Regions from separate parts of the Homo sapiens genome. Here region 2 is linked to region 1. The links are contacts of gene promoters, found by promoter capture Hi-C in blood cells and fetal thymus (Javierre and others, 2016). All regions are on one chromosome and are shown on one strand. The core of a region is centred on a gene start or on the middle of the fragment in contact, and the rest is flanking DNA. Distances in the headings are between cores, read along the strand shown.

What was found. Contacts are between HindIII fragments. The CHiCAGO score rates a contact against its expected background, and 5 or more counts as called.
Region 2: a contact is called between a fragment that was not itself captured here and the fragment with the promoter of UCN3 in region 1, in 2 of 17 cell types (M0 macrophages and endothelial precursors). The highest score is 5.2, in M0 macrophages.

What each region holds. Positions count from the first base shown.
Region 1 is chr10:5,363,651-5,366,645 of GRCh38, forward strand. UCN3 (urocortin 3) reads left to right here and starts at 1,316. Exons shown (of 2, transcript NM_053049.4): 1 at 1,316-1,580. The HindIII fragment of the contact is 8,098 bases long and covers 1-1,583 here.
Region 2 is chr10:5,134,405-5,137,428 of GRCh38, forward strand. It overlaps a transcript of AKR1C8 not described here. Among named protein-coding and RNA genes, the nearest start is that of AKR1C3, 42 kb to the left of the region's middle. The HindIII fragment of the contact is 3,166 bases long and covers 1-2,984 here.

The DNA of each region.
Region 1 (2,995 bases), core at 66-2,565:
CCCACCAACACCTCCCTCCCATCGTCCTCCTTCTCTCCCGTTCCTCTCAGCCCTGGCTCAGTCCATGCTGATCCATCCTTTCTGTCTGAAACCCCTCCTGCTCTCCTCTCCTGTCTTGAGTAGACAGGACTGCTCTCTTCTGTAGCATTTTTTACCTACCTTTCTTTCTTTCTTTCTTTTGAGATGGAGTCTCACTCTGTTGCCCAGGCTGGAGTGCAATGGCGCCATCTCAGCTCACTGCAACCCCCACCTCCCAGGTTCAAGTGATTCTCTTGCCTTGGCCTCCTGAGTAGTTGGAATTACAGGCACTCGCCACCATGCCCGGCTAATTTTTTTTGTATTCTTAGTAGAGCCGGGGTTTCACCATGTTGGCCAGGCTAGTCTTGAACTCCTGACCTCGTGATCTGCCCGCCTCGGCCTCCCACAGTGCTGGGATTACTGGCATAAGCCACCGCACCCAGCCTTCCCTACCTTTCTAAACCATGAGGCCCTGTATGGTTAGGGGCCACAACTTACTTATCTCTGAACTCGTGGGTGTCTTGGCAATACCTGGTACACAGTAAGTCCTCAATAAATATAGGATGCATAAACGAGTAAAATCCAAGCCATTTCCCACTAAAACCTCCAGACCTCTGGTGTATGATGACCTGCTGTCATAGCCCAAAGGAATGGTTGAGTTTCAGGTATCCAGAGAAAAATGCAGGTGTAGAGCTTTCCCCTCAAACGTATTAACAAATAGATGGTGCTCAGTCATTTTCGCGGCAGGCTGCAGAGAAATCTTAAACTTTCGTGTTGTTTCACTGAGGGTACGGCAGAAGAGCCCAAGGAATGTGAAAGGAGAAACTTGCATAATTAGACTTTATGTGGGGAGTAGGCACCGAGTGTGTGACAAGCACAAGGGGCTACGTGTGCGGCCAGATGACGCTGCACGGTCAGAACCCACAAAACAACACGGCAACAGGTGGATTTTAAACCCCTTCTCTGCTTTCAAAGCAGGTCCAGGCTCTACATTTACAGAAGGAGAGTTAGGGCAAGGGGAATGTGGGGGAAACTGAAATTAGTTAGAACTAAGATCAGCAATAAAATTCTTCAAAGACACTGCTTCTCACTTTACCAGGATTTTTGTTTTGTTTTGTTTTGAGTTTTTATTTCTTCTTTTTCTTTTTTGTTCTTTGCTTTTATCAATGAAGCAAGTTGCTAGGATGCAAAAGGAGTTGGGGGGTAGAAGGGCGGGGTGGGAAGCAGAGGTGGGAGGGGTCGAGGTTGGAGCACCTGTCGTCTGCATGACGTGGACGGCTGGTTCTGGTTGTATTTTAAATGAAATCTCATCCCAGCGTAGACACCACGTCTGGAATTACGATCCACCCTGTGATCTGTCACTTTTATATACACACAGGGGAGGGGACCGTTTCCATAGAGAGGGAATATCACAGCCCACTTAGGAACAATACCGGAGAAGCAGGAGCCGAGACCCCGGAGCAGCCACAAGTTCATGGGGACGTGCACGGGGCCGCCCTCCTGGCCCTGAAGCTGCGCCGGCCTCCCTGAGCGTTTCGCTGCGGAGGGAAGTCCACTCTCGGGTAAGCTTGTGGCTGGGACTGACTTATGAAGGGTAAATGTATCTGCCCTAATTTAAGCAGGAGGTGCCATGCACTAGACAGGTGTGAGAGATGAGAGCTGCTAGCGCCCCTGGGTGGAAGCCCAAGGGAGCGATGCTGAACGCCCCCCACCCAATCAGCAGAAATCAGCCCCAAAGGGACCAGGGGAAGTTTCTCAGGGAGGCACAATCACATTCCCACGTTGGTATAGAGAGACCCTCTTTCCAAAGGTGTTAGATCAGAGGCAGAAGGTGTTCACACAAATCTGTTTTCTCTGAACAGAGCACAGCTGTGCACAGGAAAGTCAGTCCTCGGAGACAGTTTACAAATGGGGATGGGGTAGGGATGCCGGGGCTAATGGGAGCCACAGGACATGACTCCACGCCGCCTGCAAAGCAGCGAGGACACCTGCACTTACTGTTTACCTGTGCCACAAACCTTCACCTGTGCCATCTCCCGTCACTCTCGGGCACACCTGTGAAGCAGGTAACGTCTCCTTCCTAGGACGCGGCAAGTGAAATGCAGGTTAAGGGATTCACCCAAGAAAAGTCAGAGGCAAGGGAGTTTCCCCAGCCAGGTCCTCTGCCACCAAAGCCCAGAGCCCTTTGCCACACTAGGAACATTGCGGGGGTGTGTGCAGATACCTACAATGGCTAACTCCTACCTGTGAAGGGGAGATGGATGTTTGATGTTTATGTTTTCTGAAAATTCCTGTTCGCAATTTCTTTCCCAAGCATAGCCACCTACCAAAAATAACAAATGTGAGATTTTTAAAACGTTTTAAGTGGTCTAGTTTCAGTTTAACTTCTTATCAGTGTTTGCAGACAAACGGAGCCCACAGGAATAGCTCTGCACTTGGCAGAGATGTGTGATCAGTACTGTTTGCCTCCTGCCTTTGCTGCTTCATGTCCTGTCCTCTCCCTGTGAGGTGCTGGGAATTGGAGGCTGACCCAGGTCCCTCACGTTTCAGTGCTTGGCTCTGCCACAGCTCCCAGAAGTAACTGTGTCTCTTTACAGCATCCTCGACAAGTGCTACTGTCACCATAGCCCAAAGGAATGGTTGAGTTTCAGGCACCCAGAGAAAAATACAGGTGTAGAGCTTTGCCCCTCAAATGTATTAATAACTAGATGGTGCCCAGTTATTTTCGTGGCAGACTGCAGAGAAATCTTAAACTTTTGTGCTGTTTCACCAAGAATATGGCAGAAGAGTCCAAGGAATGTAAAAGGAGAAACTTGCAAAATTAGACTTTATGTGGGAAGTACAGAGTATCTTTTCTTCTTTGGGGAGAGTTCCTTTTCTTTTATCCTATAAACCCTAAACAAATCTAAACAGATCCTAAAAAGAAAAGTCCTGGAAAGAAATCTGAATCTACCTTCCAGCCCCCAGCCACTCACAC
Region 2 (3,024 bases), core at 152-2,651, 230 kb before region 1:
CGTTTTCTTCCAGTATAGAAATAGTTCAGTCTAGAAAATAAAGTCTCCATTTTGCCTACTTTCATGTCAGGGGACCATCCATACCATTTTGATACAAATCTGATGCATATTAACATGGACCAAAAATCTAAAATTTCTCCTTCGAGGTTCTAGTTTTTTCTTAAAGTTATTTTTCCTTTTAATTTTCCTAGAGGTGAAAGTTGTACATGGGAACTTGTATTAAGTCCAAGACCAGTATTATTACTCTGTCATGCTCAAGGCCACACAGCAGCTCAGCAATACTCTCCCTAAGAGTTTTCATACACCCCGTCTCCAGACACTGTTACCACAAAGATTTTGTTCGATCATGTATACTTGGAAGAACAAACAATTTCTTCAATTATAGAAAGAAACGGAGAAACCATTCCACTGCAGTCAATCACCTACAAAAGGAAATGCCAGGCAGCGTTCTTCACTCTTGAGTTTTAAATATTCTGCAAAGCTGGGAACACCCATAAACAGAAGAAAAAAACAGTGCACAAAATAAAAGTAAGCAGTACACGACCATATGACCAGACCCCAATGCAGAACAAAGATTGACTACCTTTTCTCTTTGAACATGGAATAGCTCTGGCCTATTAAAACAGACCAGGTGAGTCACGCAGAGTAACACAGGAACACAAAGCTAAAACCCAAGTCATCTACTTATTCTAGCTTTGCTCTTTTAAATGCCCAACACTGAAAATATGATTATGTTACCTCTGGAGGTACACAGGTGCCAAATCCTAATACAGGCATGAAATGACCATCATTTAGCTCCACACACTGATATTTGGGATCCATTGAATGTCATTCCTTTCGCTAAGCAGACACGGTTTCCTTCTTCAACATCCAGCATTTATATTCACAGGTTGTATAAACAATGGGCAGGCAATGCTACACTGCCCACTGTCTGGGGCTGACCAATGTCATGTAGGAAGAGGCAAGTGATGGTGTATTACACAGGCTATGAAGAAAATTGAATCCAGTGCACTTGTTTTTTATCAAAGAGAATTCTTAAGTACATTTTAATATAGTCAGAATAAAATTATTATTTTCTTACTAAAGTAAAATTTTCCATCTGGAATCTATCTATCTATCTATCTATCTGGCTATCTATTATCTATCTATCTATCATCTATCATCTATCTATCTATCATCTATCATCTGTCTATCTCATAAATTCCTCCAATAGATTTATAGAATGATTAATTATCATATGTTGGACTATAAAACAACTCCAGCAACAAGTCTCGTTTTTGTTCATGCCGTGATGATGTTTCATCTTTATTTTATGTCATATAAATGATCAATCATTGTACATCTTTCTCTCACATGATGCTAAAGGAATGACTAGTAAGCATTTTTTAACAGGTGACAATAAAAAAGTTAAACATTAAAACCAAAGAAAATTTCTCCTTTTACCTTTCCATCAGCAAATATTTTGGGTTTTTTTTCTTTGCATTGTAGAAGGAATATTCATTCCTGATGAAAATGCAGTCCTGATGATGTTGTAATCCTGACAAGGGTTCAAAGGAAAAAGAAAATGCAGAAATTATGACATGATGTTTATTGGAGTATTAATTAACAATGTCTGGTCTTTGGACATCATTTGTAATATGGAAACAGTGCCTTATAGTATTTGTATCTTTCACATAGTTTTATAAGAAACTATCAAAGGTAATGTTCCAAAAAACTGGTAACTATTTTACATAATTTGTGATCCTGTTAAATGTTATTCATAAAACTGGAATCTAATTACAATAAATTGGTGAATAATCCTCACATGCCTTAATTTTTACTTGTGTCTCTCTTTGGAGGGCAAATTTGAATGTAATGATTGGGCCAGACACGTTGGCTCACACCCGTAATCCCAGCACTTTGGGAGGCTGAGGTAGGTGGATCACTTGAGATCCAGTGTTCAAGACCAGCCTGGCGAATATGACGAAACCTCGTCTCTACCAAAAATACAAAAATTAGCCACGTGTGGTGGCAAATGCCTATAATTCCAGCTACTCAAGAGGCTGAGGCAGGAGATAAGTTCAACCTGGGAGGCAGAGGCTACAGTGAGCCAAGGTCATACCACTGTATTCCAGTTTGCATGATCCATGATTAACATCCCTGATGAATCCACACCAATATCTGTTGTTTTTTGACATTTTAAGAATAGTCATTCTCACTTGTGTAAAATGATATCTTAATGTGCTTTGCTATGTGTTTCATAAGTGTACATTAAATGTAAATGGCTTAAATTTCCACATCAAAAGGACAATTTGCAGAATGGGTTTTAAAAAATCCAGGATGCAACTATATGTTCTGAATCAGAAACTTCCTTTAGAGGAGGACATAAATAGTGTGAACATGAAGGACAACAATAAGTATTTTAAGAAAATAGTAACCAAAGAAAAGGTGTGATAGCTGTACTAGAATCAGACGAAATAACATTTAGTCAAAAATTCTGACAAGAGATAAACAAGATATAAAACACAGGCATATTTTATAGCTATTAAAAGTCACATTCCAGACCACCAACATAAAGCAAATACCACAATAAAATGAATCACATAAATTTTTAAATTTCAACTGTATGTAAAAATTATGTTTACACTATTTTATATTAGGTAAGCAATAGTATCTGTCTAAGGAAACAATATACATATCTTAATTTAAACATTTTTTGTTACAAAATGCTAACAATTTTCTGAACCTTCAGCAGGATGTAATCTTTTGGCTGCTAGAAACTATTCCCTCACTGGGAGTCCATTCCAAGATGGCTGAATATGAACAGCTCCCATCTGCAGCTCCCAGCGTGATTGATGCAGAAGACAGAGGCCAGCATCATCCTGATACCAAAGCCTGGCAGAGACACAACAAAAAAGAGAATTTTAGACCAATATCCCTGATGAGCATCAAGGCAAAAATCCTCAATAAAATACTGGCAAACCGAATCCAGCAGCACATCAAAAAGCTTATCCACCAAGATCAAGTTAGCTTCATCCCTGGGAT